Regions from separate parts of the Homo sapiens genome. Here all the other regions are linked to region 1. The links are contacts of gene promoters, found by promoter capture Hi-C in blood cells and fetal thymus (Javierre and others, 2016). All regions are on one chromosome and are shown on one strand. Each heading gives the region's core, a stretch centred on a gene start or on the middle of the fragment in contact. The rest is flanking DNA. Distances are from core to core; before and after follow the strand shown.

What was found. The method cuts DNA at HindIII sites, captures the fragments that hold promoters and counts their contacts. A CHiCAGO score of 5 or more calls a contact.
Region 2: a fragment that was not itself captured here is called in contact with the fragment with the promoter of GATM in region 1 in 12 of 17 cell types (monocytes, naive B cells, M0 macrophages and 9 more); the score reaches 10.7 in monocytes.
Region 3: a fragment that was not itself captured here is called in contact with the fragment with the promoter of GATM in region 1 in 1 of 17 cell types (monocytes); the score reaches 5.1 in monocytes.
Region 4: a fragment that was not itself captured here is called in contact with the fragment with the promoter of GATM in region 1 in 10 of 17 cell types (monocytes, naive B cells, M1 macrophages and 7 more); the score reaches 9.8 in monocytes.

The regions. Positions count from the first base shown.
Region 1 is chr15:45,375,297-45,379,854 of GRCh38, forward strand. GATM (glycine amidinotransferase) reads right to left here and starts at 3,248. Exons shown (of 9, transcript NM_001482.3): 1 at 3,089-3,248; 2 at 1,305-1,523. The coding sequence starts at 3,157. RefSeq lists a silencer at 3,047-3,376 and an enhancer at 3,517-3,596. The HindIII fragment of the contact is 1,395 bases long and covers 2,752-4,146 here.
Region 2 is chr15:45,155,179-45,159,736 of GRCh38, forward strand. DUOX1 (dual oxidase 1) reads left to right here. Exons shown (of 34, transcript NM_175940.3): 28 at 624-751. Among named protein-coding and RNA genes, the nearest start is that of DUOX1, 27 kb to the left of the region's middle. The HindIII fragment of the contact is 2,638 bases long and covers 1,211-3,848 here.
Region 3 is chr15:45,570,505-45,575,062 of GRCh38, forward strand. No RefSeq gene overlaps it. Among named protein-coding and RNA genes, the nearest start is that of BLOC1S6, 15 kb to the right of the region's middle. The HindIII fragment of the contact is 5,703 bases long and covers 1-4,558 here.
Region 4 is chr15:45,201,914-45,206,471 of GRCh38, forward strand. No RefSeq gene overlaps it. Among named protein-coding and RNA genes, the nearest start is that of TRH-GTG1-9, 3.0 kb to the left of the region's middle. The HindIII fragment of the contact is 1,352 bases long and covers 1,586-2,937 here.

The DNA of each region.
Region 1 (4,558 bases), core at 1,998-4,497:
CTGACCTCGTGATCCACCCGCCTCAGCCTCCCAAAGTGTTGGGATTACAGGTGTGAGCCACCGCGCCTGGCCACCACTAGGAGTTTTTAAAAAGAGAGATATTACTTGTTGCCAGGGAAATCCTGGAAGACTTTGTGAAAGGTGTCATTGAAGCTAGGTGGTGGTAGGTTTAAACTACAGACTAAAGGGCACAGGAAGATGGATGGAAGAGACTTAGGTAGGGGCAAAGATGCAGGGCTTGTGAAGAAACAGTGAGTAGTCTAGCTTAGCTGCCTTATATGGTTGTCTTATAAAGTCTGCTGAAAACCAGGGTGGAATATTAGAGGATAGAGGGACTTGACCAGAAATGAACACCTGCTAATCTGCTGTACTAACAGATGAGTCAATAACTGGAATGGGGAATCCTGGAAATGCAGACAAGAGTCAGATTGTGAAGGATCTTGAATACCATGAAGACTTTATCCTAAACAATGCGGGGGGTGGTGGGGTAGTGGGGGTCGCCTAGCAAAGTACAGGAGGAAAAGAAGCAGGATGAGTAACATGATCACATCTGAGTTTTAAAAAATCACTTGGATTGCAGCTGCCAGGTGATTTGGTGAGAAGAGTGAGTAGGAGTGACCAGTTAGGAGTTAACTGCAATAGTCCAGGCAGCAGATGAGCTCCCAACCTTTAGGGAGAGGCAAAGCAGAGGAATGAGGCAAGATTCATTTTTGACAAAAGCCTTGTTACATCACGTGACATAAGGAGAAATCAAAGATGATTCTTTTGTGTTTTAGCTTGATTAAATAGGAATGCCAATAATTAAAAGGCAGGAATGAGGAGGGATCCACTTGAGCAGGTGGCTGGCAACTGAACTCCAGATGTGCCAAGTTTGAAGTCCTGTGGCAATATCCCGTAAGGAGTTTAACTCGTTGATCTGGAAGGAGTTCAATACAGAGATCCGGACCAGAGAGGAGGTGGGAGCGGTAGCTGTGAGAATGGCTAAGAGAAGGGGGCTGAAAGTAATATTCTGTTCAACCTTGCCATTACAGGCTGTGACGGAAGAAGATCTGAGGACAGTGAAAGAACTATTATTCCCAGAAAAGCTCTCTCAGAATCCAAGGGAAGAGCTTCAGGAAGCTCTTCAGGAAGGAAGCAATTATCATTGGTGTAAATAGTGTCAAATACCACAGAGGTGTCAAGTAAGATAACTTAATCACTGGATTGAGAGGTCTGGGAGTAAGCTGAAGGGAAAGCAGTCAGAGGGTAGCAGCAGCAGGTGAGGAGGGAGCGCACTTTCAGACATGTGAATAGCCTTCCTTTACCTTCACCTCGATGGTGAACGGTGGAACACAGGCGTTTTCTGCTCTGCCCACTATCACTTCCTCTAAGGGGTCCCATTCGTTGTAAGAAGAGACAGGGCAGTCCTTGGGCAGAGGCTCAGTGGCTTTGTCGTCAGCTGCACAGGAGTTCCGGGAGGAAGCCGTAGCTGCCTGGGTGCTCTGGAAAGTTCGCTGCACCCATCCTGTCAAGGTTCGTCCAAGCTTCCAAGAACAAAGAAAAGATTATTGTATTGCATTGCTCTATCAGTACTTACAGAGAGGAGGAAGTGGAGATGGAGTAAAAATCCAGCATAACATTGCCACTTAAACCCCTTTAGAACAGCATAAACCAAGACGTTAACAGTGTGTAGGTGGGTAGTGGGATTACAGATAATTTTTTTAACCCTCTTGTTTATCTACAAATTGTCTTCTTATCTATTAATTGCTGTAACTCTTTAAAACTCCTCAGAAGACCGTGTCCCCAGCTACCATACACCCCCATCTTTATCTCAGAATGCAATTCCTGCACTCAAGCTTTAAGCAACTGTTTTGCAGATGGGTCAGTCCTCCTCTCAGAAAACCATAGACAGCTGCTCTAAAACTTCCCGCCAGTCTCAGCTGGGGACGGAACCTCCTTTTCCCTTAAGTATCAAAGGTTACCAATATTAGGCTTTTTATTTATTTTTTTTTACAAATGAAAAGTTGGGAACATTTGTAAAGGACCTTATCTTTCAGAATAACCAGCTTCAAATCAAATTTTTTTCATCTTTGACATACACTTCGCATTCTTTGGCACTTCAATTCTGAGAGTGAGCAACTGCCATCTGCTCCATTTTACAGATGGTCCACAGTACCCTAGCCAAGGTCAGGATTAGCTCAGGCGTAAATTCAAACAAATAAGAAGGAGATCTAAAAACTTCAAAAGCCTTTTAAAAATGCATGGCCTATAAAATCTAGAGCAGGGAGGGTCCCTCAACCCCTGAGCAAACCTCAACCCCCCAAATCTCTATCCTGCTCTGTTAAAAGCCTTAGGAAGTGGGCAGGAGGAGAACTCGGGTGGAGGCAGAAGAAAGACGGAGAATGACAGCTGTTCAGGAACCAGTTGCTGGGAGGAAGCCAGAATGTCGGAGCGATTCCAGTACTAGAAGCATGGGAGGGTCTGCTGCCAGGGCAGCCGAGGGCGGGGAGCGCAGAAACTCTGCTTACAGGCTGCACTCGCCCCGACTCCTCTCCAGACGTGGGATCCCATGTTATACTTGGAGTGAATCTGGTCGCTCGCTCCCCGTCCCCGATTCCCACTTTGCTTGCCTCTTCTCCCCATCCATCTACCCCACACGCATTTTCCAGAAATCTCCCCAACTCGACGCCCACTCAGGCTACTGAACCCCAATAACGCCACCCTTTTACTAAGAGGAGCCTCCGTCGTCCCAACCCCTTGCTCCGAGCGGGAAGCTTGGTGCAGCGCACCAAGGTCCGGTAGAGGGGGGCGGCGCCCCCTGCGCCGTGGGCCAGCAGGCCGCGGACGCGCAGACAGCAAGTGGACCCCAAGGGCTGGAGCCGCAACGCAAGTTCCCCCTGACTGGGGGACGCCGCCCAGCTCCTGGAGCCTGCGAAGGCTCTTGAAGCTGAGCTTCCCAGGGATACCAGAAGGGACACTCTCGTGCAATTCCGGCTAGGGAAAGCGAGGGAAGGTGGCGGCTCCGGGCAGGGAGCGAGCGAGTGCTCCACGCCGCCCGCAGGATCGAGTGAGTCACGCGGCCGCCAGACGAGGCCGGTGGCGCACGCACCCGAGATCCGATGTAGTGCACCGCCTCGGCGCCGCGGCTCCCGCCGCGCAGACACCGCACCCGCAGCATCGCCCTGGCCCGGCTGGTCCACGCGCGGAATGTTCCTGGCCTCTGGGCCGCGTCGGTCCAAGCCTTCCCGAGAGCGCGCCCGGAGCGGGGTGGGCGGGCGCGCGGGGCCCGAGGCCTTTTGTAGCCGCGCTCCGCCCCGGCCGCCCCCCGCGGCCCCATTGGCTGCCGGGAACAGGTGGTGGGGCCGGCGTAGCGCCCCGAATTAGGAACTGTCGGGAAGCGCCGCGGCCGCTGGCTCGAGCCTCCGATGCTTGCCCTTTTTTAGCCAGCGGGGCCACTGACGGCTTCTGTTGCACGTCCGGACCCGGACCCAGACCCGAGCGTCGCAAGAAGGCCCGTTGGAGTCTCGCGCAACTGGGCAGGACGCGACTTCTGACGAAGTGACAATGGTCTATGCATATATTAAGTGAATATTTGAGAATTTAAATATGCAAAGCGTGAGTACAGTGTTACCCTTAAATTCACATATGCGCACTGAACCAGTCACCTCATTTTTCGGTAAACGAAACCACCTAAAGATTAGGTGGTTTCTTGGTGCAACATCGGGTTTGAGACTGCAGAAAACTAAGTCTGGAAATTGGGCCATTTGTTCCCCGGGGAGGCAGTGCTTTCCTTCCAGTACCCCGTCGGTTGTTATTTGGAACACCTGGCATTTCACATGGTCTTTGGCCATATGCCCCTGGCTTGAGAAACTCCGTCATGAAAATCGACAAGTGTGGGTCAGAAATAAGGGAGGACGACAGTTTCGTTCCTTCCATTTCATGTTTTAAAATTTTTGTTTCAACTTGATCAGGATTCTTTTTTAGAAAAGTATTTTCCCTCACAGTGCAGTCTTAATTGCTGTGGATTTGTACAGAGCTAGAGAACTCAGGTTAACATTTATGCTCCTAGCAGGAGGGGGGGCAAGAGATTTGAGTATTTCATTTTTGTACTTATAGAATTATAACTATTCATTTTTGATGAGCTGTCTTTTCAATTTTGGTATCTCAAGCTTGTTTTCCAGAGTTCATGGATGGAAAGCACCAGACGAGCAGATGGCATGGTGGAAAGAGCCTCCGAGAGGGAATTAGGATAACTGAGTTCCAGTCCTGAATCACTTATAGACTACTATATGTCTTCCTGAATTGCAGTCTTCTTATCTGCAAAGTGAGAACAATAGAATTTACTGTCCCTAGCACATGGGGGGTTGCTGAGAGGCCAAAATGAGAGATTGTACATGCAGAACTTGATGCGTGGCATTAGAGCTGTATGAGGCCGGGTGCAGTGGCTCACGCCTGTAATCCCAGCAATTGGGAAGGCCGAGGCAGGCGGATTGCCTGAGGTCAGGAGTTTGAGACTATCCTGGTCAACATGATGAAACCCTGTCTACTAAAAATACAAAAACTAGGTCGGGCGCGGTGG
Region 2 (4,558 bases), core at 1,280-3,779, 220 kb before region 1:
CTAGGATTCAGTGGCAAACTAGCTTAGCCTGTTCCTCATTCTTGAGAACCCGAGAGTCAGGAAAGTGACAGACAAAAACCAAATAATGACATTGGTGAAAAATTGGCTGGGTGTGGTGGCTCATGCCTGTATTCCCAGCACTTTGGGAGGCCAAGGTGGGCGGATCACCTGAGGCCAGGAGTTCAAGACCAGCCTGGCCAACATGGCAGAACCCTGTCTCTACTAAAAATAAAAAAAATTAGCTGGGCATGATGGTGCATGCCTTTAGTTCCAGCTACTCAGGAGGCCGAGGCAGAAGAATCATTTGAACCTGGGAGGCAGAGGTTGCAGTGAGCCGAGATTGCACCAATGCACTCCAGGGAGCCTGGGTAACAGAGCAAGACTCCATCTCAAAAAAAAAAAAAAAAAAAATCATGGTGACAAGGGCTATGAAAAGTGAACAATGTCTGCTGAAATGAAAGGTACCTGTGATCAGTGGTGTTGGGGGAGAGGACCAGAGGAGAATGCTGGGACATTCTTACTCCAACTTGGGCAGTGGAGTGGAGAGGGGACCTTGGAAGCTCCAGAACAGTTCCCTTTCAAGGCACTGATCTTCTGCCTTCCACCCTATATTCATTTTGCAGGCCTCACGGGGGTTGTGCTGCTCCTGATCCTGGCCATCATGTATGTCTTTGCCTCCCACCACTTCCGCCGCCGCAGTTTCCGGGGCTTCTGGCTGACCCACCACCTCTACATCCTGCTCTATGTCCTGGTGAGGGCTTTTGGCTGTGAGCCAGGCCAGGAGGGTATGGGCAGGACATTTCCAGGGAGGCAAGGAGAGCTGGGACATTCATTCAATTTCTAGCTATTTGAAGCATCCTCTTCACTTCTCGACGTCCCTCTTTGAAGGTGGAGATGATAGTACAGGGCTCTCCATTAGGATGACCCCAATATGCAGCACTTGGAAGCTCGGCTCCCTGGCATGGGTTTTGCAGTAGCAGCCCTGCCAGACTGATCTCCATTCCTCGCAGACACCTCCACCCCACTTCTGCCCAGCTAGTCTTTCCCCACTTTGGGTGGCTGGTTTTGGCTCCTGGGTGGACTACCTGCACCCAAGAGAGCATCACCCTTTTTGAAGAAACTTATCTTAAATGGGTTCTGCCACTTTTGTTCTGATCCTATTTTTGGGGGCATTAGTCACACCTGCTAAGTGCCACCTGTACAGTATATAAGCTTGTTCAAAATGACTTCAGTTGGATTGTTGATCTAATGAATTTTTATTTTTTATTTTTTGAGACAGAGTCTCGCCCTGTCGCCCAGGCTGGAGTGCAATGGCATGATCTCAACTCACAGCAACCACCGCCTTCCGGGTTCAAGCAATTCTCCTGTCTCAGCCTCCTGAGTAGCTGGGACTACAGGCACGCACCACCATGCCTGGCTAATTTTTGTATCTTTAGTAGAGACAGGGTTTCACCATGTTGGCCAGGCTGGTCTCGAATTCCTGACCTCGTGATCCACCCACCTCGGCCTCCCAAAGTGCTGGGATTACAGGCGTGAGCCACCGCGCCAGGCCAATCAAATAGATTTTTAAGACTCTACCTATCCCCTTTCCTTCTCCTTAACCTTGGCTCCTGCCTCCCTCTCTCCATGTTGCCTCCCTTCTCATGTTCCCTTCACCCTCCCCTGGGTTTCTCATCGGCTGCCTAGCTGGTTAGTTCCCGAGCTGATTCTGTGTCCCTGTGTTGTGGCTCTGCTTGTCTGCCTTCCTCATGAGCAGAGGCAATTCCCTAAAGGGTACTCTGAGGGCCTCACTTAGAAGCTAAACCAAATCCCAAGGCTCCAGCTGTTCCCTGCAGCAGAACTGCATACAGGGCTCTCCTTTGTGCCGAGACAAAGAGAAACTGCACCATGGCCTCGGTCAGGTTGGCTCCTGCCATCTGACCTGCCTTCTCTCAGGTGCAGTTCTGTCCTCACTGACAGATAGGAGGGTCTGTTTCATCTTGCCTGTTGCTCAGCATTTCACAGTTCTGAAGATGACTACTTAGCCTTGGCTTAGGATGTTTCCTAGAACTGATGATATGCGTTTCCTAAGAAACATCTCTTTCTTTGGAAGCTATGACTAATTTACCCTCTCTCCTCCTCTTCCCAATAATGAGTGGAGCCCTAGCATTCTCGGCTACTGCTTCTGTTGGGGGTGGAAATGACGTTCTTGTTCCTGGTGATAAAGCAGCTACTTTGAACTAGATGAGAGATCCAGAAGAGTGGCCAGGCAGGCTCCCTAAGACCCAGAGCCCTTTCTGATTTGTCCTGGGGTGTAGGCATCACTAGGATTCCAAGCCACCCTTCCTGCCAGCAGGAAAGTCAGGGGTTCGAAAGGTGTGGCCGGGCACAGTGGCTCACATCTGTAATCCAGCACTTTGAGATGCCGAGGTGGGTGGATCACCTGAGGCCAGGAGCTCAAGACCAGCCTGGTCAACATGGCGAAACCTCGTCTCTACTAAAAATACAAAAATTAGCTGAGTGTGGTGACGCACACCTATAGTCCTAGCTACTCAGGAGGCTGAGGCATGAGAATCGCTTGAACCCAGGAGGTGAAGGTTGCAGTGAGCCGAGATCATGCCATTACACTCTACCCTGGGCAACAGATGGACAGCCTGTTTAAAAAAAAAAAAAGAAATAAAAAAGGAAAAAAGAAAGGTGGAGGCCTCTATGCTAGGCTATCCTCACCAGCAGTTTGGGACAATCTCATCTCAGGGAGATCAGGGCAAGAGCACCCTCTTTGTTCCCACTTGTCCCAGGCGTGACCACTTGACTTCAAGCAGAAAGATAAATTACAAGTAAAGGACCCCAGTATAGACTAGACCCTGGGGAAGGATGGCCAGGCTTCTGATCCAGGCAGAAGAGGGCAGGGCTAGCACATCAGAGGCTGAGCTGGCTGAGCCACCACCCCATCCCACCAGCCAACAAGGAATCTGCAGCAGCCTTGTGGTTTAAAAGGAAAGCCAGCACAAAATAGGGTGTAGAAACAGAGCAGCATGACGTCACCCTGCCATTGTACTCAGCCTGTTTGGATGCTCAGAAAGCCTTAGGGGTGGGTGTGGGCTCCACAATGAAACAGTGAACTTGGGGAAGAAAGAGCCAGTTCAAAGAAGAGCTCAGAGAGGTTTAAGTTAGTCTTGTAGGGAAAGGTTCAAGAATCTAGGAAGACTTAGCTGGGGGAAGGGAACGCCTGAATGGGGAACCAGAGTTCAGTTTAAAAGCTATCTGTTGGCCGAGTGCAGTGGCTCGCACCTGTAATCCCAGCATTTTGGGAGGCTGAGGCGGGTGGATTACCTGAGATCAGGAGTTGGAGACCAGTCTGGCCAACATGGTGAAACCCCGTCTCTACAAAAAAATTAGCCGGGAGTGGTGGCATGCGCCTCTAATCCCAGCTACTCGGGAGGCTGAGGCAGGGGAATTTTTTGAACCAGGGAGGTGGAGGTTGCATTGAGCCAAGATCACACCACTGCACTCCAGCCTGGGTGACAGCGAGACTTCCATCTCAAAAAAAAAAAAAAAAAAAAAAAAAAAAAGCAGCTATCTGTGTATCTGTGGAGGGTCTTTTATGTACTAGCTCTCTGTAGGGCCCAGCAGCAGAAGGGGAGACTCTAATCTCTTCCTTAGGAACTTAGGATTCGCTGTGACAAAAAGTGGCACATGCATGAAATGATCAAAATGAACACTTGATATAGGATTAATTGCTGAGCGGAGTGTTCCAAACAGTAAGTTATAGGAGTTCACTGAAGGGAGTTTCACTTGGGCTAAATTGGCTAGGGAAGACTTTGAGGAGAAGACTGGACTTGGGCCAAGGGTCTGGGGGAGGTAAGCTAAGCTTTGACAGGGCAGAGTGGAAACTGAAGAGCAATCCAGGTAAAAGGAAGGGCATGAGCACAGGCAGAGGTGGGAATGGTGATAGGATATTCAGGAGGCAGAGGGGACAGGGCTGGCTGCAGATGGCCATAGGGCATTAGGTGGTGGCAGGACATGCTGCTGGTGATCATGTGGCAGCTGCAGTTGAAACTGAGGGGCTGTGGCTCAGCTGAGAGGCCATGCCACATGGCGGAGCATAGAAAGAGATGAGCAGAGGGTGACAAAACCAGGCTTGGGCAACACCCATGACTGGGGGTGGCAGAAGGAATTAAGCCAGTGGAGGAGATGGAAAGCGAGTGGCCCAAAGTGGGAGAACCAGTAGAGCATTGTTGCAGAAGTGGCGAGAAGGAGGTGGTCACTAGTGCCTCAGGCTTCTAAGAGTAGGAGCCAACATGGCCTGAAAAGATATATTTTACCCATTTGTGGGGCTGCTGGGCCCTCAGTGGGAAGGTCCTAAGGAGAGGTGGACGCAGAAGTCAAACTGAGCCAGACTCAGGAGCAAGCAAGTGGGAAGAATGTGACCAAGTAGTGTCTGACCATGTTAGACAAACTTATTAGGGAAAGGACCAGAGCTGGATGATACTTGTCAGTTATTACATGGAAAAGGGAGACTAGTTAGGTATTCTTAGCCTGGAAAAGGAGAGGATAAACTGGGGAAGCGCCTTTCCCC
Region 3 (4,558 bases), core at 1,270-3,769, 190 kb after region 1:
TGAACCAACACTATTCCATCTCCAACAAGATCTGGATTTTTGTCTTGGTGAGGTTGCAGAGATCTTACTTGGATGCTTTATCTCAGTCCCAACGTTGTGACTGCTCCTTATATCTGCTATTCTTGTATTCTTTAGAATTATCTTTCTTACTGCATTGCTCCAATATCTCTCTAATAGTGAATAACTTTCTATATTTTAAAATTTAATTTAACTTAATTATATTTTATTTTTTGAGTTGGGACCTTGCTATGTTGCCCAGGCTGGTCTTGAACTCCTGGGTCCAAGCAATCCTCCCTCCTTGGCCTTTCAAAGTGCTGGTATTACAGGTGTGAGCCACTGTGCCTGGCCTAAATTTCTATATTAAATTTTCCCTGTTTAAATTACTGTGTGCATTCTTTCTCCTCATTGGACCCTGCCTGATATATCTGACAAAGTTGGACTCACAGCAGGACTCTCCAACTGGGAGCTGGGGCCAGATGGGAGAGCCAGTCATTGCTCCAGTTGCCTTCTGAGGCAAAAAGGAAGGAGAAATACCTTGATTTCTTCTTTACCACCCCCTTCCAATCTCCCAGCCTGTAACCTCTACTAGTGCCTCCCATTGGCCAAACTCAGCTGGAAGCAAGCTGGCACAGGGACCAGGAAAGCCAGCCCCTGTGGTATGGGGCAGAGCAGGGAAGGTGACGGTGGGACTGAGGAAAACCAGGACTGATAAAATCCTGCAGTAGTCATTGGCATTCAGGGATTAGTTCTCCTAAGTTTATGATGAGATACAGACAGACTATATTTATCTCTTTATTAAGTAAATTAATTTAAAGTCTATTTTTCTCTCTGGGAGCACATAATAGAGACTTTTCTGAAAACTTAGAGGGAAAAATGACATCTTGAGATATTTAGCTGTTAATAAAAATTAATGCCTTTAAATATACCCTTTCATCTACTACATCAAATAAGCAGTTTTGAAAAAATACTTTAAAATGAAGGTAAGTGAATAATTAATTTTAAAGACAGCACTTTCCTAAGTAAATTCAAAAAATGTTGACAAGAAATTTATAGGAAGTCCAAAGACTAGGGCAATAATTTAGAAATTACTTGATCCACTGGCATTTTTAAACTGAAAAAGGAATCAGAGACTCTGAACTCTTTGTATTATTGACCTCATTACATTATAAGGAAATTGAATTTTTAAAATATCATCTCACCTTTTGGTCTGGAGAATCTTTGGAAATAATTCACATTTAGCAACTGAAACACTTTGAAGAGAACATTTTAAGTAAAAAAAGGACTATTTTGCATAGCTAATGCAAGTACTTATTTTAGCAATTTTAAATGAAGCATGATCTATCTCCTAGCTAATTTAAATAAATCTATCCTAAAAGGAAAGCTGAGTCCTGGAATAATATATGATGCCTATGGTCATTAAAATCACACTTTTTCCATAACATAGAGAATAAAGTAATAATGACTGATGGCTACTTTGATATCTACATGTAAGATTAACAAATGAATTTTGTGAAAACCCCAAAGTGGAAGAAGAATCGCTGTCTTTTGAATAATATTTAAAGTTATTTGAATGAATCATCATTTGTGACTAGTTTTACTAATAGTTCAAAAACACTGATACTATTTCAAATGATTAACACTCAATATTACGGATATTCATTTACTGTCAGATTTGATAATACTAAATAAAAAATAAAAAAGATTCCCCACCTGCCAATAGAAGCAGAACACTGGTATTGGTGATGTTCTCTATCCCTCACAGCTTGATCTTCTAATTTTGCAGGTTTGCAACTTCAGTTGCCAGCTTAACCAGTTGATATTAACCACTAAAAAACTGCCTATTGTATGAAGTTGATTTGTATAAAAGAAATGAATTTTAATAAAACATAGAATTGCCAAGCCCTCCGATATTCATTTAAGTCATTTAGTCCCTCTTATTTCAACAGAGAAGTCTACATAAGAAGCCAAATTAAGGTTGAATGGTTACTTAGGAAACCTAAAGTCTATTTAAGAGATCACATTAAGGTTAGTGAATATATGTATCCAAGGCACTAATAACAGAAATAATACTATTTCTTCTAGCCATAATAAATGCTCGTTTAGTGGGTGCTATTATTTACAATAGTGTCTTGCAGCAGTTTACAAATCCTGTTCATATAATGCGTGCTTGATTCTTACAAGAACTACACCGAGTAATGGGTCTGGTATTATCATTATCATGCCTCTTTTACTGATGAAAAAAACACAGGTTCAGAGAGTAAGTGACTTGACTAAAATCTCATAACTGATATAGTTGACATCTGTTGTTTTGGTTGGGCCAATTTCCTTCCTCTTTTTGGTAATAGGACTCTGATTTTTCCTTTAAGGAACTACCCAGTGCCTTTCTATAACTCCTAGCAGGTCTGTCAGTCAAGGGGCTCTGCCTCTGTCTGTTATGTGTGACCCACACTGACCCATCAGGGTCCACTATATTCCCCTAGATGCAGAGATTGGTATACGGGTGGGCATGTAATCCAAGTATTTGAGTGTTTTTTTTTTTTTTGAGATGGAGTCTTGCTCTGTTGCCCAGGCTGGAGTGCAGTGGTGCAATCTTGGCTCACTGCAACCTCTGCCTCCTGGGTTCAAGCAATTCTCCTACCTCAGCCTCCCGAGTAGCTGGGATTACAGGCATGCGTCACCACACCTGGCTAATTTTTGTATTTTTTGTAAAGACGGGGTTTCACCATGTTGGCCAGGCTGGTCTTGAACTCCTGACCTCAAGTGAGCCACCTGCTTCAGCCTCCCAAAGTGCTGGGATTACAAGTGTGAGCCACTGTGCCTGGCTTTGAGTTTTTTTTTTTTTTTTTTTAAGGGATTGAAATAAATGAATGCTAGGAGCGCACTGACTTCACTTGGGAGATGTAAGGATCATGAAACCCTGGAGCTATTTTCCTATCACATTGAGAGAGCTCCTAGAGTGAATGCTACATAGGAGAAAGCAGAGTGGAGAATCAAAGGGAGAGAGAGGGAGAGATTCCTATTTTGGCTGAGGAGAAGACATAGAAATCCTTGAAGCCAGAGCAGCCCCCGGACTTTCAAGCTCAGTTGATCAAAACTTCCTTTGTTTGTTTAGGAAGGTCTGGACTTCTCTACTTGCTAGTTGGTTAGACAAAAATCTAATACAGCTAATGATTATCTTAGCTGGGCTTGAAACAAATCTTTTGACTTTAGCCCTTTGCTATTTCTTTTCTTGGGATATTTGAGGTGCTGCTTTTCTGGCTGGAAACCTCTGTGGGTGGTGGTGCCTTTGCCCAAGTTCTTGTCCTATGTCCAGGAAGAGTGATGTATGCAGACAAGTGGAGGGTGAGCAAGACGAAGAAGAACTTTACTGAGGGTCAGAACAGCTCAGAGGAGACCCGCGGTGAGCAGGTCCTCTCTGTGGGCAGGTCGTCCCATCGAGTGTGCAGCTCTCAGCAGAGAGGAGGCCTGGAGTGGATGGCTCCTCTCTGCTGACAGGTCATCCCCAAAAATGTTCATCTCTCAGCGGAGATGGTAGTTCCTCTATGCAGCTGGCCATCCTGATGTCTGCCCTGCTCTGGCTGAGTCTGGGGTTTTTATGGTTTTCATTCAGAGTGGGGAAAGTATATGCTGATTGGTCCATGGGCAGCAATAGGTGGGCTCAGGAAAAAGCACCACAAGTTCCCCCTCTGGTGGGCAGGACTGGTAGGACCTTCCCTGGCCTGAAAGTGGAGCTTCACTGGGGACCCACCCCCTTCCTCCCAGGAGCCTGTCTGCCTCTCACGGCCATTCATTGGCACCCAGGATGTTTGTGCCAAGAGGTGCCTGCAGGCCAGTGTTGAGCTACGTGCAGTCCCCCTCGGCTTCCCTCCCATGATCCTCATCACCCAAAGTCTGGAGGGGACTGATGTGGCTGGGGGCTGGTGTGTCAGCACTGCCCTGAGCATGAGCCCCCTGGCTGGGCTGCAACAATGCCGGGGCTCGGCTCCAACCTTGCTCCAGGATTAGAGCAGGAGCTGACAGTGGGAGAAGCCAGGCAGCAGGAACAGGTGCTGGCAGGGGGCTCTGGGAGAGAGCTGGCTCTGGGCTCCCAAGAGCACAGAGACCCCTGGGTCTGCAGCCGAAGGGCAGGGCTCCTGCCTGCTCCATGGATCGTATTTTCCTTTAAGGAACTACCCAGTGCCTCCCTGCTGTAGCTGGCATCTTGGCAATGGCCACTTTAGATGAGTCGCTGCTGCTATCATTTCTATGGAGGTATACCTCAGAAAGGTGTCCCTGACTATAAATGTCAAAACTGGTCATGTGCTTTTGTGAGTAATTTGAAAATCTGCCCTCTTTCTATAGAGACATACTGTCCTAAGTTGCTTTCTAATGTTCATTTTAAAAATTAAATCAAGAGAATGGGAAGACCAGCCATAGACTGGGAGAAAATATTTTCAAAAACATGTCTGATAGGCCAGGTGCAGTGGCTCACACCTGTAATCCCAGCACTTTGGGAGGCTGAGGCAGGCAGATCACCTGTGGTCACGAGTTTGAGACCAGCCTGGCCAACGTGGTGAAA
Region 4 (4,558 bases), core at 1,012-3,511, 170 kb before region 1:
CTGGTGGTGGCTATGTCACTCTCAAGGAGGGAATGAGAGGGCACTGAGGAATGAGCCTCTCCAGCTCCTCTCAGGTGTCCTGAGGGTGGCAAGGCAAGCCCGAGATCATTCCTGGGAGAGACAGACATTGCAATGGGGTTGCGCCCCCTCTACCCACAATCAATCAGTAAAGAATGAACAGCACTTAAAAGCTAGGCACTGGCTTCATGCCTGTAATCCCAGCACTCTGGGAGGCCGAGGTGGGCGGATCTCTTGAGCTCAGGAGCTCCAGACCAGCCTGGGCAACATGGCGAAACCCTGTCTGTACCCAAAATACAAAAATTAGGGCATGGTGGCGTGTGCCTGTAGTCCCGGCTACCTGGGAGGCTAAGGTGGAAGGATTGCTTGAACCCGAGAGGCAGAGGTTGCAGTGAGCTGAGATCACACCACTGCATTCCAGCCTGGGCGACAGAGCAAGACCCTGTCTCAAAAAAAAAAAAAAAAAAAAAAAAAAAAAAGCAAGGCACTGCGTGGGGGCTGTAATCTCCCCAGGTCTCCAGTCTCCCAGTTCTCTACATTTGGCGAGTTTAAACCACACAACAGGACAGCTCACACCTCGAGAGTGTTCTGCGCAAAATAGAATGGGGAAAGGTGAGCCTGAGAACTTGCCAAGCTTTGGATGACTGATTCAAACGTTATATGTCTAGAAAATCAACATCGCCAACAACAAAAAAAGAACTGGCCAACAGGAATGTGGTGACTTATATTCCTCCAACCCCTCACCAAATAACTGCTGTGACGGATTTCAATCTGTGGGCTGGAATAAGGTGTCAGGGTGGGATGCCAGGAAAGGCTCTGGCTTTTCCCCTGAAGACCAGCCCCCACTGCCCTGCTGCAGGTGCTTCAGTAGGCAATGAGCTGCTCCCACACCCTGAGGAGAAAGTTAGGAGTAGCCACTCTCTAAGAGTACTACAAGGAAAAAGTGTCAACCAAGAGGCTGGGCATGGTGGTTCATGCCTGTAATCCCAGCATTTTGGGAGGCTGAGGTGGGAGGATTGCTTGAGCTCCGGGGTTTGAGACCAGCCTAGACAACATGGTGAGAAGCTCTCTCTATAAAAAATACAAAAATTAGCCAGGTGTGGCGGTGTGTACCTGTAGTCCCAGCTATTCAGGAGGCTGAAGTGGGAGAATTGCTTGAGCCTGGGAGGGGGAGATTGCAGTGAGCCGTGATCATGCCACTGAACTCCAGCCTGGGCAACAGAACAAGACCCTGTCTCAAAAAAAAAAAAAAGCGTCAACCAATAAAACAAAAATCACAAACATTCACCATCTGAGATAACCCACTAGCCATCCATGTCTGAGGTCAGGAATGCTAAAGAAAGCTGAACTGAAAGTGTTGTATTGTGACCTAGTTGCAGGAAGAGTGACACGAGGGGAGGGCTGCCTTTTTGGCAGCTACACGGTAGTCCATGAGATGGGCGCATCCAGCTCTCAACATTTCATAACATCCTCTTCTGAGGTCACTCAGTCAATTTTCCTTACAAAACAGACTTTGATAATGATTTGCCCATTAGACTTCCCTACAGGAAAAAGCATGCTTTGAACAAGCTTATTGGCACTGTTCTCCTAACTGTGGGTGTTTTGGTTTAGACTCATAAGAGTCTGGTTAGCATAATTCATTTCCCTTGTGCCTACTTATCTCTAGGTACACTGACAAAATGGAATGTCAGGGCTGGCAAAGCCCTGCTCCTGGAGACCCTGGCCTGGAATGACCTCATCAAGACCCCGCTGCCCTGGGACACCCTCTCTGAGCAATCAGTCAGCACCCCCTTCCTGTTGGTCCCTTGCTTTTAAAATTGTTTTATGATTTCTGATTCTGGGAATGTAATATTTCCTCCTATCACTTCCAGCTTGAGGTTGGAACTCTTCTCTAGGTCTCAGTGCCAGGAAAGAGGTAGGGTGCTTATACTTAAGAGCACCCTGTTCACACATTCCAGCTCCAGTTGTTCCCATCTTGGTTGGATTTGTTAATTTCTGCAGGTTTCCAACCTCTAAGTCACTTTGAATTTTTTTCCCTTCCATCTGATAGACCCTGAGGTACAGTAGTTGATAGTACTAGACTAGTCCTAACTCTAATTAAGGGGTAGCATAAGTTGGGGATGGTGGCTCACGCCTGTAATCCCAGCACTTTGGGAGACTAAGGTGGGAGGATTGCTTGAGCCCAGGAGTTCAAGACCAGACTAGACAGTATAATGAGACCTCGTCTCTGTTGGGGGAGCTAGCATAGCTTAGTAATGAAGCCTCTGACACCTGAAAGTAGGCTGTTTAAGATTTGAATCTCAACTCATCCATTTACTAACTAGGTGACCCTGGGGAAGCAACATGTCTCCATGCCTCAGTTTTCTCACCTGTAAAATGATTGTAGAATGACTTCTCATCTGTAAAAGGATTGTTATGAAGATTAAATGAATGAATATTTGTAAAGCAATAGTGCCTGGCACTTACAAAGCCCTACTGAAGTTTTACTTAAATAATATAGTAGATGGGAATATAACATAATGAAATCAACTCCTTAAAAATGAACACCCTGGAACATAAACATCCAAATGAGTATTGTGTTTCAAATCAGGCATTCCACTTTCTCCAAACAGCTGCCCAAAATATTTTTGGAATTCTTATTTGGAGATTATTTTCAGGGCTAATTTATAAGCCATATGAGTACATCCACCTCAATATTTATAATCACATTCTATTTTGAAATAACTTTTGACTGCTTTTAAAGCTACCTTCAAAGAGAAAAATGTCACCACTGAGTCTTTTAAGGCACAAAAATTTCAATGACAATGCCAGAAATGTTTTATAAATAACATTCCAGCAAAAGAAAAACAATTTTTTTTTTTTGGTAGGAGTGTGTAGACTTCAAAGGGCAAACCTTGAAAGGGACAACAGTAATTTATAAGCTTCAGATTGTCTGCTTAAACCATCAACCCCACAGCTTCCTGGTTATACTCCCTGGTTATACCTCGTATATCTGGGAGCTGCCAACCCCCACAGGGGCGCAGTGTTGAGCAGCTGCCACTGGACCAGCAGGCTCTGGTCCTGGAAGGCTTGTCCAAAATTCAGAATCTTGATCCACAACTCAGAATTACCCAGTGAAAATCTTCGGTTTTCCACAAGGTCCTCTCCAAGTGATTCATCTGCACAGGAAAGTTTGAGAAGTGCTGCTCTAGCCTAAAGCTCTAATGGAATCCTTCATTGTTCATCTTGTGAGTACTTGGGTTACTAGAAGGGACCTGCCTGAATCTACTGAGCCTCATCAATGGGGATGTCATTGAGGTTTTCACAGTGAGGAGATGGTGATCTGGGAGGGAGTCATCAAAGGGCCCATGTTTAGGGCCGTCTAGGGAGGAGGCAGCACATCTGGATTTCCACTAGAAGGCGCTGTGCCCCAGGAAGTAGTAGTGAAAAGCTGAGGCTGGAAAAGACTCATTTAATTTGCAACATACCACTTCTGACTTAACTGAGCCTGTTCCACAGGGATTCTCTGGGTAATGAGGACTCAGATTTCATCCATCTACTTATCTATCCATTCATCCATCCATCCATCCATCCATCCATCCATCCATCCATCCACTCATTCATTCATTCATTCATTCTTCATTCTTCCCATAAACTAGCATCTCTTAGTTCTTAAGTCATTGGGGGCTGCAAAGCTGTATAAGATACTTCTTGCCTAGAGTAGTTTATTTTTGAGCTGAGTTTGTCAACTGAGATTTGCCCCTCATCCAAAGTCAAGTGACCAGCATAGACTGTTCAATATGCTGTAGTCGGTCTCTTGTTTCTAGGTACTTCTCTCCATATCCACAAAAAGAAACTGTAGGGAAAGATGGTGCAGGACTTTATTCCTGGCATGAGACCTGAAACTAATTCCTGAGTCAGGAAGAATGCAGGAGCTGCCTTGCAGAAGCAAAGGTCTAAATCAGTGGTTTCCAAACTTTTTAGAACTGATAAACTAGGACAAACTTTTCACCACTGAATGAAAAAATGAGGTCAATGTGGTAAGCTTTTAAAATGCTAAATGCATTTAATCCAAAGGACTGTCCTCTAGGCTGAGACAATGACCTTTTTATTTTTGAGGTATTAAAGTGACTTTTATAAAACTATGGAGAAAGTAGGTGATAGGTGTTTTTTTGTTTGTTTTTGTTTTTGTTTGTTTGTTTTTTAGACGGAGTCTTGCTCTTGGCTCACTGCAACCTCTGCCTCCCAGGTTCAAGCGATTCTCCTGCCTCAGCCTCCTGAGTAGCTGGGATTACAGGCATGTGCCGCCACACCCAGCTCATTTTTGTATTTTTAGTAGGGACGGGGTTTCACCTTGTTGGCCAGGTTAGTCTTGAACTCCTGACCTCAGGTAATCCACCTGCCTCGGCCTCCCAAAGTGTTGAGATTACAGGCATGAGCCACTGTACCCAGCCAGTGATAGGTTTTAAAAAACATCTTTTCTTGGAAACGTTTTAAATTGGCAATGTTGGTCTCCAAAATTAGTTTTGAGTTACTGGTCAGAAAAATCTGCAAATACAAA